5 separate regions of the Homo sapiens genome follow, and all the other regions are linked to region 5. The links are contacts of gene promoters, found by promoter capture Hi-C in human tissues and cell types (Jung and others, 2019). All regions are on one chromosome and are shown on one strand. The core of a region is centred on a gene start or on the middle of the fragment in contact, and the rest is flanking DNA. Distances in the headings are between cores, read along the strand shown. Region 1 overlaps ZNF253 (zinc finger protein 253). Region 2 overlaps ELL (elongation factor for RNA polymerase II). Region 3 overlaps ELL (elongation factor for RNA polymerase II). Region 4 holds the start of FKBP8 (FKBP prolyl isomerase 8). Region 5 holds the start of SLC25A42 (solute carrier family 25 member 42).

The links. Contacts are between HindIII fragments. The study calls those that stand out against the background at their distance.
Region 1: a contact is called between a fragment that was not itself captured here and the fragment with the promoter of SLC25A42 in region 5, in 1 of the 25 tissues and cell types used here (stomach).
Region 2: a contact is called between a fragment that was not itself captured here and the fragment with the promoter of SLC25A42 in region 5, in 2 of the 25 tissues and cell types used here (dorsolateral prefrontal cortex and spleen).
Region 3: a fragment that was not itself captured here is called in contact with the fragment with the promoter of SLC25A42 in region 5 in 1 of the 25 tissues and cell types used here (dorsolateral prefrontal cortex).
Region 4: the fragment with the promoter of FKBP8 here is called in contact with the fragment with the promoter of SLC25A42 in region 5 in 2 of the 25 tissues and cell types used here (dorsolateral prefrontal cortex and spleen).

Annotation. Positions count from the first base shown.
Region 1 is chr19:19,892,851-19,895,550 of GRCh38, reverse strand. ZNF253 (zinc finger protein 253) reads right to left here. Exons shown (of 4, transcript NM_021047.3): 4 at 877-2,700. Among named protein-coding and RNA genes, the nearest start is that of ZNF93, 6.7 kb to the left of the region's middle. The HindIII fragment of the contact is 4,796 bases long and covers 1-2,700 here.
Region 2 is chr19:18,484,840-18,487,539 of GRCh38, reverse strand. The region is part of intron 1 of ELL (elongation factor for RNA polymerase II); the gene reads left to right. Among named protein-coding and RNA genes, the nearest start is that of ELL, 36 kb to the left of the region's middle. RefSeq lists an enhancer at 1,488-2,073. The HindIII fragment of the contact is 6,018 bases long and covers 1-2,700 here.
Region 3 is chr19:18,510,868-18,513,567 of GRCh38, reverse strand. All of the region lies in intron 1 of ELL (elongation factor for RNA polymerase II), which reads left to right. Among named protein-coding and RNA genes, the nearest start is that of ELL, 9.9 kb to the left of the region's middle. The HindIII fragment of the contact is 5,853 bases long and covers 1-2,700 here.
Region 4 is chr19:18,542,323-18,545,022 of GRCh38, reverse strand. It overlaps FKBP8 (FKBP prolyl isomerase 8), which reads left to right and starts at 1,450. Exons shown (of 9, transcript NM_012181.5): 1 at 1,450-1,537. RefSeq lists a silencer at 1,205-1,634. The HindIII fragment of the contact is 12,332 bases long and covers 1-2,700 here.
Region 5 is chr19:19,062,686-19,065,385 of GRCh38, reverse strand. SLC25A42 (solute carrier family 25 member 42) reads right to left here and starts at 1,392. Exons shown (of 8, transcript NM_178526.5): 1 at 1,271-1,392. LOC124904655 (a long non-coding RNA gene) reads left to right here and starts at 1,861. Exons shown (of 3, transcript XR_007067160.1): 1 at 1,861-2,196. RefSeq lists silencers at 1,221-1,490, 1,751-1,920. The HindIII fragment of the contact is 11,421 bases long and covers 1-2,700 here.

The DNA of each region.
Region 1 (2,700 bases), core at 76-2,575, 830 kb before region 5:
GTTCAAGCAATTCTCCTGCCTCAGCCTCCAGGCATGCACGACCACGTCCAGCTAATTTTTGTATTTTTAGTAGAGACGGGGTTTCACCATATTGGCCAGGCTGATCTTGAACTCCTGACCTCAGGCAATCCACCTGCTTCATTAAATTATGCACTAAAAGTGTATAATTACACTGTTTGTAATACAAATGATAAACGCTAGAGGTGACGGATATCTTATTTACCCTAATGAAATTTCTACATATTGTATGCCTGAATCAAAATATACCATATAAGGCATAAATATATACACATACAATATACCCACAAATACTAATAATAAATTTCAGTAAGAAAAAAATAGGCAGGGTGCGGTGGCTTATGCCTGTAATCCCAGCACTTTGGGAGGCCGAGGTGGGCGAATCACTTCAGGTCAGGAGTATGGGACCAGCCTGGCCAACATGGTGAAACCCCGTCTCTACTAAAAATACAAAAATTAACCAGGCATGGTGGCGCACACCTGTAATCTGAGAACTCCCACGTTCAAGCAATTCTCTTGCCTCAGCCTCCTGAATAGCTGGGATTACAGGCATGTGCCATCATGCCCAGCTAATTTTTGTATTTTTAGTAGAGGTGGGGTTTCTCAGTGTTGGTCAGGCTGGTCTCGATCTCCTGACCTCAAGTGATCCATCTGCCTCAGCCTCCCAAAGTGCTAGGATTACAGGCATGAGCCACTGCACCCATCCCATACAACTTTATATTTAAAGAACCATAAATATTATATTAAAACCTGTCTAAACCAATAAATATACCTGGCTGTATTTTAATATTTTTAACTATAATTAATAATTTCTTTCTGTCACTATAATGTAGAAAAGCATTACTCTGAAACCCCACCTTATTTTTTATCTTTGCTTATTAATAAAATAATTCATTATGATTTTTGAAAAAAAGTTTTAAGATGTTCCGCATACATGTTAATGTAGGTTAGACCATCCAAAAGACATTCAAAGCATCAACATTAAGTCATTGGCTAGGATTATAGAAATGAGAACATGAACCCCCACCTTACACATTACTTAATATCAGTTAACTACAAAGAGCCTCTCCACTTATATTTTCATCATGCATCTTACATTTTAATGTCCTTACTCTTTTATAGAAAAGGTCATACATAATGCCCAACTAATAAAAAACAATCTCTAATATCTCTAATGCAGCAACAATTGATCACATGCTTTCACATGTGAATATAATAGGAATAAAATAGCATAAAGCAATGTGAAAGCTGTATTATATCATTATTCACTTTTCAAAAAAATTTTTTCAAGAAAACAAGTATACTTTCAATGTAATTACAGTGCTTCAAAAATCCACTTTTTAAAAAATTATATAGAAATAATTTATCTAACAGCTGTAGCTGTGGATTAGTTTTTATACTGAACATTCTGATTTAGTGTAATGTCTGAAGTGTCAGTGCCTTAATTATTCTATGGAAAATTCTCTGATATTTACATAGAATCAATTTTGAATTAAATATTTTTTGATATTTACTGCATCTGCAAAAATATATTTTGGTATAAACCCTCTGGTGTTTTCTAAGCTGTCATTTTTGGAAAAGAAAAGTCTTTCCATTCATTACATTTGCAGTACTATTCTCAATATAAATTCCCTTGATTCCCTGAAACAAAGCTTGAGCAACTGCTTCAGGGTTTTCCTCTAGTACTACATGTGTGCACTAAGATCTGTGACACAAGTAAAGGCACTACAACCCCCTTTATATTTGTAATGGCTGTCTTCAGAATAAATATTCTTCACTTTAAAGACTTCTATTTTCTGAAAGATTTTTTGACAGTAATTGCACTTTTAATGCTTTATTAACTATGAACCTTCTTCTGTTCAGTAAGATGTGAGTAGGCATTAATGGTTTTTCCATATTCTTTGTATTTGCACAATTTTTCTCAAGGATAAGAGCTTTCCTGTGAAATAAGGTATAAGCACTAATAAAATATTTTGCCACATTCTTCACACTTACAGGAGTTTTGGCAGTATGACTTCTATCACCTACAATCATGTATGACAATCATATAAAGGCTTTGTCACATTTTATACATTTCTAGGGTATTACACTAGTATAATTTATTTTTATGTATAGGAAATGTGGAGGTGTTGGTAAAAGCAATGTCGCATCTTTCAGGTTTCCAGATTTCCTCTTCAGCATGAATTATCGCCATGTCTCTTAAGAATTAAGAACTTGTAGCCAGGCATGGTGTCTCTTAAGAATTAAGAACTTGTAGCCAGGCATGGTGGCTCACGCCTGTAACCCCAGCACTTTGGAAGGCCAAGGCAGGTGGATCACCTGAGGTCAGGAGTTCGAGACCAGCCTGGCCAACATTGTGAAACCCCATCTCTACTAAAAATCCAAAAATTAGCCAGGCGTGGTGTTGGGCACCTGTAATCCCAGCTACTTGGGAGGCTGAGGCAGAAGAATGGCTTAAACCCAGGAGGCAGAGATTGCAGTGAACGGAGATCATGTCATTGCACTCCAGCCTCGGTGACAAGAGTGAAACTCCATCTCAAAAAAAAAGGAATTGAGAACTTGTTATAGGTTTATAGGTTTTGCCACATTCTTCACACTTGTAGGGCTTCTGTTTGGTATGAATTATGTGTAATAAGGGTTGAGAACTTCCTTAAAAAGCTTTGTCACATTCTTTATATTTGT
Region 2 (2,700 bases), core at 65-2,564, 580 kb after region 5:
AAAGTTAAAAGTGGGCTGGTTTCATGCAGCTGCCTCTGTCAGACCCAGCAAGGTGGAGGATTTTCCTGAGACAGCACATTCAGGGATCTGTGCGCATCCTAAGCACTCAAGGTGGTTTATGGCCATGCTGAGGGCAACTGTCCCCCAAACCCAGCTGCTCCTCAAGCACGAAGGAAGACTGGGGCCTGGCTCTCGTGGCACCTCCTTGATGCCCACCTCAGGACACATATGTAACGCTTGCTCTGTCCTCACTGGGCCTGCCCATTTGAGGGGTGACCCTACTCTCTGGGGTGGTTGGATTGTCCAGATGTTCCCAGAAGCCTCTGGAGCCCTCAATGGGTTTTTATGGGGAATGCCAGCCCATATGGGCAATGGCTCAGAAGCAGTTACTCCTTTCTCAGGGGGTCTCCTGGTGGGGGGTAGCGGGGTCTGAGCAGCAGGGTCTACACGCACAGGGCCTTCTTTGTGTTCCTGAGTGATTAGGATTTACCCACTGCGTGGTGGTGGAAGCATCGGAGGTGTCAGCATGGCATGTAGCTGACGGTGGAGGCCAGCATCTTGGAAGGCTTTGGTTGGCTGCAGAGGCGCATGTGGGTGAGGTGGCAGGCAGGACCCGATGCCAACCTTTGTGGCTGGCAAGGTCACATCCCTGAGGTCCAGATGTGGCAGCTCCCAGGTTGCAGGTTCAAACTGGGAAGGGGACCTAAGAGCACCCTTGCAGTGAGTACTGGCTGGGGACCACGGGTCATGCCTTGAAGGGTGCCAGATTCTCTTGGCATCCTCTTATTTTTCTGTGATCTTTGCCTATCTTCTGGGACAGGGGTTTGGGTGCTTTGCAGAGGTTGCAGTGAGCAGACAATGAGATGAGGCGGTAAGAGCCGAGTCCGGTGCGGAGCTGTGAATCATCCAGGCGGCTGACGTGACACAGGGGCCCCGTGAAAGGGCGTGGTTTCTGCTTCAGAGACAGGCTCCCTTCTCAGAACCGCCTGGGTCTCTGAGGGCCTCAGGGGCAGCCTTGGTGAGTGTGGCCGACCACCGGAGGAGGAAGGACGGTCCTCCTGGGTCCTGAGTGTGTGCCTTGGTAGCTTGGCAAGCTGCCATCTCCTTCTGACCTGGGTCACATCCACAGTGGACACTCCCAGGACCGCACCCCCACTCTGGGTCACAGAGTACATCTTGGGTGGGTCTGTTGTACATAGACTGTTAGAAACGGGGCAGAGTGGCCTGAGGACGAGGTGCTCAGCAGCCTCTCTCTTCCTGCCCCTGTTGAGCCAGTGCCTGACACTGACCGCCCTTGGGGCCCTGAGCTAAGCTTCACACAGAAGCCCCTCCCCAGATTCCTTCCCAGGTTGCAGGGCTCCCACCCGAGGTGGAGCCCCCTCTGCAGGGCAGCCTGGGGGTGTTTGTGCTGTGGGGCTTGTTGCTTCCTGCCAAGGTCAGCAGGGGGTGGCTGTGCTCTCAGGGAGAAACAGTGGCTGAGGGGCTTCGTGATGCATCCAGGAGAGTGCCTTAACTGTTTTCATCCCCGTAGCTTGCTTTCTTTTTTTTTTTTTTGAGACAGAGTCTCGCTCTGTCGCCCAGGCTGGAGTGCAGTGGTGTGATCTTGGCTCACTGCCACCTCTGCCTCCTGGGTTCAAGCAATTCTCCTGCCTCAGCCTCCCAAATAGCTGGGACTATAGGCGTGTGCTACCACGCCCGGCTAATTTTTTGTATTTTTAGTAGAGATGGGGTTTCACCGTGTTAACCAGGATGGTCTCAATCTCCTGACCTCGTGATCCGCTCGTCTTGGCTCTCAAAGTGCTGGGATTACAGGTGTGAGCCACCGCGCCCGGCCCATCCCCGTAGCTTTCCCAGTGACTGTGAATGTGGCACGAATTTGGGCAAGGGATACCCTCTGCCTCCAACCACCAGGCCTCATGGGGCACCCTGGGCTGGGCCTGAATCTCGCCTCTAAGATGAGCCTTAGAGTTGGGGGCCAGACCTGGTCTCCCTGGTCTCCCTGGTCTCCCTGGCCCTGGGAGGAGATGGGCTCCCATAGTGGAGTGTTAGCTGTTTTCAGGGGAGAGGTGGAGGCAGCTGGAAAGCTTGGGTGCACTGGGGCTCGGCAGAAGGGGCCAGTCTGCTCTGTGGTGAGGCTGAGGACGGGTGGCCTTGGGAGTGTGGCAGAGAGGAGGCGCTCTAATAGCAGTTGAGCTTGGAAGGCCCAAAAGTGAGGTGGCCCTACAGACTGACAGGTCGAAGGCACACACATGGCCTTGTCTGCAGGGGAGTTGAGATGGAGGCCTGGAGGGGCCTCCTGGGGAGAGGAGAGCCCATGGGCCGCTTCTGCTGGGCTCCAAATAGTCCCATGGAGGTGAATGGGGTTTGGGACCTCCTAGCTGCCTGAGCAGGAAGCACAGTGGCAAGGCAGAGCTGCATTCTCAGGGACCCAACCCCCACAGAGGCCTGGCCTGGGCTCTGATGAGGGGATGGCCCATGTCAGGCCCTAGAGCGTTCTCATTCACCTCAGAAACGTCAGGAACCCAGGGCTAGGAGAGGCCCATGCTGTGCCCTGGAGGACCCCAGTGACCTAGGTCAGTCCCTTAGCTTCTTCCATTGTCAGATGTGATCAGATCATGGTCACTGTTGTCTGGGGGAAAGCAGTTGTTATCTGGCACCGCAGACCATGGGCAGAAGGCAGGTTTGGTGAGAGGGCAGTTT
Region 3 (2,700 bases), core at 103-2,602, 550 kb after region 5:
TGCAATGTACCTAAAATTAGCAAGTCTGTTCTCATTGCCCCAGGTAATTTCTGTTGACACCTTTGCACCCTCCTCTGTCTCGCCTGGGTGTACCGTGTTGTCATAGTGGCACAATCATATGGTTTTGCGTCTCTTCTTCCCTGAACACTTTATGTTTTAATGCTGCACCTTCTGTGCATCGTGGAGCCTGACAGGTCAGTATTCTTCGGGCATTTTTGTGTTCTTGGCACTATGCTTGGTTCTGGGGATGTCCGGATGCTGCAGGCCTTGTGTGTGTACAGGCCAGTCCACTGTCCCGTAGTGAGGCTACATAGAGCGATGAGGTGAGGTGAGGCAGGTGACCCAGCACAGGCCACGGCCTGGCATGCCCATGTGTCTGTGAGTGGAGCCTGGAGTATGAGGCTGCGATTTTGAGGCCAGGGAAGGCAGCTCAGCCCCGCTTGGCTTGCTCCTCTTTGGACAAATTGAGCTGCTGGTGATGGAGGGCTGTGGTCAGTCCTTCTCACCGTTCTTCAGATGGGGAGACCGCAAGTATATACCCTACTGTTAACACCCCTGTCCTTCCCCCAGGCCCATCGGGGGCCTCAGCTCTTCATGAGATGCTGTTGTTGCGCCCCGTGTCCTTTTTATATGTTGGTGAAAATGTTTTCACAAAGAGGCGTCTCTCTTGAAGGATGCTGAGAACTGCATATTGGGGATCAGGTACATTGGTGGCGCTGCTCCCACTGACAATTTGGGGCTCCAGGCTGCTGGCACCCTCCCTGAGCCTCAACTTCCCAATTCAGGTGAAGGTGTTGTCCTAGAGGTGAGACAGGCTTGTTCTCCCTGGCTGTGCACGAGGTGTCAGCTGCTCTCCTCGTTGACCCAAAAAATGATCCCAGAAAGCAAAGCCTCCAAAATTTAAAATAGCTTCTCCTATAGCTCTGCTGTTAGGGTTTTATTGTTTTTTTTCTGAAATAGAGAACTGGCTTCCTAGTTTTGGCTCATTGCAACCTCTGCCTCCCAGGCTCAAGCAATCCTCCCACCTCAGCCTCCTAAATAGCTGGTACTACAGACACCCATCATCACGCCTGGTTGCTTTTTGTATGTTTTTGTAGAGATGGGGTTTCACCATGTTGCCCAGGGTGGTCTTGAACTTCTGAGCTGAAGCGACCTGCCCGCCTTGGCCTCCCAAAATGCCGGGATTACAGGCGTGAGTCACCGCACCTGGCCTGTTTCTTTATTTTTATTTCTTTATTTTTGAGACGGAGCTTTCTGCTCTGTTGCCCAGACTGGAGTGCAATCACGTGATCACAGCTCACTGCAGCCTCAACATCCTGGGCTCAAGCGATCCTCCCACCTCAGCCTCCCCAGTAGTTGGGACTACAGGCATATGCTATCACACTCAACTAATTTTTTTTCTTTTTTTTTTTTGAGACGGAGTCTTACTCTGTCGCCTAGACTGGAGTGCAGTGGCATGATCTTGGCTCACTGCAACCTCTGCCCCCTGGGTTCAAGCGATTCCCCTGCCTCAGCCTCCCCAGTAGCTGGGATTACAGGCATCTGCCACCATGCCCGGCTAATTTTTGTATTTTTAGTAGAGACGGGGTTTCACCATCTTGGCCAGGCTGGTTTTGAACTCCTGACCTCATGATCCATCCACCTCGGCCTCCCAGAGTGCTGGGATTACAGGCGTGAGTCACTGTGCCCGGCCCTTTTTTTTTTTTTAATTTGTAGAGGCAGGGTCTCACTGTGTTGCGCAGGCTGGTCTCGAACTCCTGGGCTCAAGCAGTCCTCCAACCTCAGCCTCCCAAAATGCTGGGATTACAAGCTTGAGCCACTGTGCCTGGCCAGCTTCCTGGTTTCTTTAGCAATTTTCCCACTGGAAAGCCCACAGCACTGTCAGAGGGAGCTGGGGCCCCCTGTACTTCCACCTTCTCCATCAGGCCCCCTCCGGTGGTATGGTGGGTGGTGGGCAGTGGGCAGGGAACCAGACTGATGTCCTGTGGTGTGGATGGACCACATCGTGCTCATCCATTCCTCTGTCCATGGGCATTTGGGTTGCTTCCACCTCTTGACTGTAGTGAACCATGCTACTGTGAACAGGGCATGTAAGTATCTGTTCAAACCCCTGCTTTCAGTTCTTTTGGATACATACCCAGAAGTAGACCTGTTGGATCGCCGAGGCTGGAGTGCAGTGACGTGATCTTGACTCACTGCAACCTCTGCCTCCCAGGTTGAAGCAATTCTCCTGCCTCAGCCTCCCAAGTAGCTGGGATTACAGGCGCCCACCACCACGCCAAGTTAATTTTTTTTTTTTTTGAGACGGAGTTTCGCTCTGTCACCCAGGCTGGAGTGCAGTGGTGCTATCTCAGCTCACTGCAAGCTCTACCTCCCGGGTTCATGCCATTCTCCTACCTCAGCCTCCCGAGTAGCTGGGACTACAGGCGCCCACCACCATGCCTGGCTAATTTTTTATATTTTTAGTAGAGATGGGGTTTCACCATGTTAACCAGGATGGTCTCGATCTCCTGACCTCATGATCTGCCCGCCTCAGCCTCCCAAAGTGCTGGGATTACAGGCATGAGCCACCGCACCCGGCCCATGCGTAGCTAATTTTTATATTTTTAGTAGAGACGGGGTTTCACCATGTTGGCCATGCTGGTCTTGAACTCCTGACCTCAGGTTATCTGTCCACCTCGGCCTCCCAAAGTGCTGGGA
Region 4 (2,700 bases), core at 201-2,700, 520 kb after region 5:
CTGTAATCTTTGGTACATCGAGGTGGGCGGATCACGTGAGGTCGGGAGTTTGAGACCAGCCTGACCAACATGAAGAAATCCCGTGTCTACTAAAAATACAAAGTTAGCCAGGCATGGTGGTGCATGCCTCTACTCCCAGCTACTTGGAAGGCTGAGGCAGGAGAATCGCTTGAACCTGGGAGGCAGCGGTTGCGGTGAGCTGAGATTGCGCCATTGCACTCCAGCTTGGGCAACAAGAGTGAAACTTCTTCTCAAAAAACAAAAACAAACAAACAAACAAAAAACCCAAGTAAACTAGTTATGAAGTGGACGTTCATCAACTTCATTGTGCCAAGACAGCTAAAGGGGGCACCTGGTCTTGCCTTGGGGAGGTTGGGAGGGCTTCCTGTAGGAGGTAACCTGGGAACTCCAACCTTAGAAGTGATCTCCAAAAAGCCAGTTACCACCTCCATGATAGCTACCTCCAAAAGCTGGTGTCTGACTCATCCATCCATCCATCCATCCATCCATCCATCCATCCATCCACCTACCCATTTATTGAGCTTCTATAGATGCCAGGCATGGTTCAAGGAGGTGCTGGGTACAAATCAGGTAAAAATCTCTGCCAGGATGAAGCAGAGTGAGGGATGGTCCCTCCAACCACAAGCAAAATAATGACAAGATAATTCTGGAAGGAGTAACTGCTAGGAAGGAAATAAAACTGAGTGAAGGAGGGAGAAGTGTCCCGGTTTCAAAACAAGATCCACAAAAACTTAGCTAATCAAGGATGCCACCTTCTTCCCGAGCCATGGGGACCTTATCACCCTCCAGCAGACAGTGCATAGAGGAGGAACTCCTCCCAGTGGCCCTGCTGGCTCAGTCGCCTGCGCAGCAGTAATCGAGCGCCTCCAGTATGCACCAGGCAACCTTCTAGACATTAAACTGTGTGGGGGATGGGAGGGAGGTTTCTGTATGCCTTTGGGCACGTCACTCCTCCTCAGGCCCTCAGGTTCACTTCTGTAACTAAGGCTTCAGGATGGGTCATTCAGCAACCCCAGAGCTGCCCTGCCCGTCAAGCTTGAACTCTTTAAGGAAATAACATTTAGAGTGGACTGTGCCCCCAGCAGCCCCCAAGGTGAGAGTGCATAGATGGGGGTGTTTATCCCCATTTCGCAGATGGTCAGGATGAAGCTCAGAGGAGAGGCAGGAGTCGCACAGGCTGCGCGATACTGACCCGTGTTGGGGTCCAGCCCAGGGTCCCCCGCCCCCGCCCCAGCCCCCGCCCCAGCCCCCGCCCCAGCCCCCGCCCCAGCCCCAGCAGCCGGGAGGCTTCGGTCCCTTTAAGAACGCCCCGCGGGGCCAAGCAGGAAGGGGGAGGTGCCAACGCCCGGGACGGACGTCTGCATGAGCCAACGGGTGCGGCAGTCGCGGCAGCGGCGGCCAATGGGCACGGCAGGGGCGGGGCCAAGCGGCCGAACCTGGTTCCCGAGGCGCGGCGGCCGCGGCTGGGGGCGGGGAGGGGGGCGCAGGACCCCAAGTGGGGGTCCCGGAGCCAGAGGCAAGTGTCCTGGGGTGCTGGGGGCGCCGTGCCGGCCGGGCCGCTGCCCTGGCCTAGGCTGGTCCGGGGGCTAGCGCGCCGGGGGCTGCGGCCGATGGGCGGGGCGAGGGGCCGCGGGGGTGGCGAGCCGGGGGGGCACGGGGGTCGGGGGTGCCCGAGGGGGCGCGGCCGGGCGGGGGTGGCCAGGGATGGGGGTCACTGGGGGCAAAGGGGATCCAGTGGGGGGGTCCCGATGGAGGCGTGCAGGGCCAGGGGCGCCCGAGGCGTGCGGGGGTCGGGTGCCCCAGACTGGTGGCGTCAGACAGGCGTGGGTCGTTGGGGGCCTGGGTCGCGGCTTGACTGAGGGCCCGGCCGGGGCTGTGGGGCGTCAGGAGAGCGTGGGGTGTTATGGGATCGGAAAGGGGGGGGCGTCTGGGGACACTGGAGTGTTTACGGCGAGACGGAGCGGCTGTGGGGGGAGCTGGCCCGTGCTGGGGGCGGTGGTGGTTGGGGTGGGGGGTGGGAGGGGAGGCCGAATTGTGCGGGCGCGGGGAATTATGGGGGTGGGGGCTGGGAGGGTCTCTCAAAGTGGGGCTCCGAGCCCGGGAGGAGCAGGCAGGTGAGGGTTAGGGAGGGGATGCGGCGGGCTGGTTTGATGGCTGTGCCACACTCTTCTGAGCTTGGGGCCTGGGGGACGGAGGGGTTGGTTATTGGTTCAGGAGGTCTGGGGCAAGGAAGAGGCTGTAGAATGTGGTGGGACCTCGACCACTCCTGGAAAGGAGGCTGCTTTGAGGGGGTGGGACCGAGGCCTGATGAGAGGAGGATGGTCTCCTGGGGAAGGATTTGGGCCAGGGTCCCTGATGTTGGGGTTGTGGGGGATAGTGTTAGATTCAGAGTGTGGAAGGAAAAAACGCTTGGGGTTTCTGGGTGATTACAGTTGGTGCTTTTGGGGAGGGTCTCCCCTTTGGAGAAGAGGCTGGAGGTGGGAGGCCCTGGTAAAAGATTCAATTTCCCCCAGTGGCCTTAGAGGCTCTAAAAATGGCTTCCCTAAGGCCTCGGAGGCTGTCCTCTCCACAAAAATCCCAGCACCCTTCGCTCAGCTTATAATCAGGCAAAGCCACAGGGCCTGAAGCCCCAGGTTCAAATCCTCCTTTGGCCTTTGGCTTTCTCTGTGACCTTGGGCA
Region 5 (2,700 bases), core at 143-2,642:
TGAAACATTAGTTTGCCTCACTCTAAAGAGTGTTTCCTTACTCTTTATCGGCTTCAAGGGCCCAGGGAGTGTCGGAGAGGGGTCCCGGGTCTGCAAGAGCTGGGAGCCCCGGCCCCGGCAACCCCCTCTCCGGCATCCTGCAGGAGGCACCCAAGATGATGAGCCCCCCTCCTCCGGCAGCGTCTCCACCGCCAGCCTGCCCCAGGACTCCGAGACACACGCTTGGCAGAGGGGCCGTCCCTTCCAGCTAAGCCTTTCCGGACCCAGTCAAAGTCACGACTCCTGCCAATCCCTCTGAGATAAACATAACAGATGGGCCCAAACGCGGTGGGTCCACAGCAGAGGGTCAGCGATGCCCAGGGTAGAATAGGCTCTGCCTCTAGCATTCAAGTGGTTTAGGTCTGTGGCTGGTAAAATGGAGATGATTCCGGTTTGGTCTGACAGATGGGATTATTCTAAGGTCCGGAAATCACTTTATAGACTGTCAAGCACTGTTAGAAATGAACACTGGGGTAAGCTTTTGTTTGGGGAGGGGAGGGTGCAGCGATCCTGAGATACCAAGGCTTGGGGGACTATTGGAGGACCTGGGGGATTCGGGGGGATTATTACAGAGGGTGTGCGAACACAGGTGCACGTGGAAGAAAGCCCAAGGTGGGAGAGAGAAAAGGGGGAGACAGAGGTGTGGGGCTGCCAGGGCAGAGGGCAGGTGCCAGGGGGAAGGTCCCTGAGAAGAGAGACACAGGTTGCTGGGGGAGTGGGCACGAGAGTAGCGAGCAGATACCTGGATATGAGGAAAGGCAGTGGGGGACGGGACTAGGTCCAGGTGTGAGTTGCGAGGCCATGAGTTAGGAGTCACAGGCTCAGGTGTGGGTGTGGGGGTGTCATCGACAAGGACAGACTCAGGTGATGTGGGGGGTGTTCGTGAGTGGGGGCGGGTGTTCGTGAGTGGGGGCGCGGTGTCAGGTGTGTGAGGGGGATGTCAGACCCAGCTGTGCGGGGCGCCGGGGACAAGGCCCCAGGGGTGTGGGAGATGTCAGCAAGGACAGTCTAAAGTGTATGGGGGATGTCAACGAAAAGGGACGTGGTGTCAGGCGTGCGTGGACTGCGGGTGACGGGCTCAAACCTGGATGCAGTAGCCCCCAGGGGGCAGTAGACGTGGAGTGTGGGGTTGGGGGGGGTCTTTAACCTCTTCCTGCCCTCGCGACGCTACTGTCATGCCCCGCCTCATCCGCCCCTCGCCCCGGGATCCATGACAGGACCCGTGCCTCACCTCAGTTCAGCCCGACAGGCGCGGGCCGCTGACGCTTGGGCCCCCCCGGCGCCCCCCGCGCCCCCTCACCGGCCCGGACGCGTCGCCGCCGCCGCTACCTCCAGCCGCCACGGCCCCGCCTCGCGCACCCCCAGAGCGCGCCACGGGAGGGGTCCACGCCACGCCCCGATTGGCTGCTCCCTGGCCAGTCAGCGCTGGAAGCGACAGTGATTGGCGAGTATGAAGCAGATGGGCAGCCCCTAAAGCCAATCGCTGATTGGCAGAGGTGGGGCTATTGGGAGAGGCCTGGGGTGCCTGAGTGGTCCCTCAGGGTGCTAGGCGCTGGGAGGCGAGGGCCTGGAGGCAGGCGAGGATTGGAATCTTGGCAGAAAACAGGCAGAACTGTCGGCCAATCGCTGGGGGCCAGGGGCGGGGCTACGAAGAAACTGGCGCTACCGGTGGGGCAGAGGCGAGAGGAACGGAGGGCGTAGCTTGGGGGGAGACCGGGATTGGCCGCAAAGCCGAAGACTGGCAGGCCCCGCGGCCAGTCGCAGCGGCCGTGGGCGGTACGCCCCCAGGGGAGGGCTGGAGCGTTCAAGGTGCAGTCCGACCCGGAGCGCGGCAACCCGACGTGGCCTCGGACGCCTGGCGCAGGGTCCCCTGAGGCTCTCGTGTAGAGCCCGCCCTCTGGCCACCTAGCACAGAAGCGGATGTGAACTTGGACCATCAAGGCTGAAGGACTCCTGGATAATTCTCTATCCCCTTACTCCCCACTAATCCCCTGCAGACGACACGGAGAGGGCAGATTCGCTGGAGGTCACTCTGAACTGCCCTCTCCATCTCGAGGTGGTGTGAAGACATGGAAATAAGGGGCGGAATCCTACTGAAACGCGCTGCGTGGTTTTCTGAGTGTCTGACCTCTCTGCGTCCCAGCTTTCCCCGCCACGGTATCCAGTGACATCCCTGTTGGGCCTTCTCCCTGCCAAGTCTTTTTTTGAATTAACTGAATCTTAACCACAATCCCATGAGGTCAGAGAGACCACTGGCTCCTTTTACAGAAACCAGAGCACAGAGAGGTCAAGCTCCTTGCCCAAGGTTACACAGCATTCTCTGGTTGCTAAACCAGAGAATGAATCTAGAGCAGCCTGCTTTTTGGAAAGAGTGTGTCAGAGAAGAGCCACTGGGGGCCTCAGAGACCTGGGTTTGAATCCTTGTCCAATCACTGGCCCACCACACAACCTTGGGCAAAAGCCCTTGTGAGCCTCAGCTGTTTCATTTGGAAAAGAGGGGGGAAAATGATTCCTATGCCTTGATCTTTCCTCTCTGGGGTTGCTTCCCTGGGAAAATTTACAACTCAGCTCTCATTTTAATTATCTGGTGAAAGCATTTGACCCTGAGCAGGTCATGTGCGGCCTGTGAGCCTCAGCTCCTCTGTGAAGTGCAGAAAAATG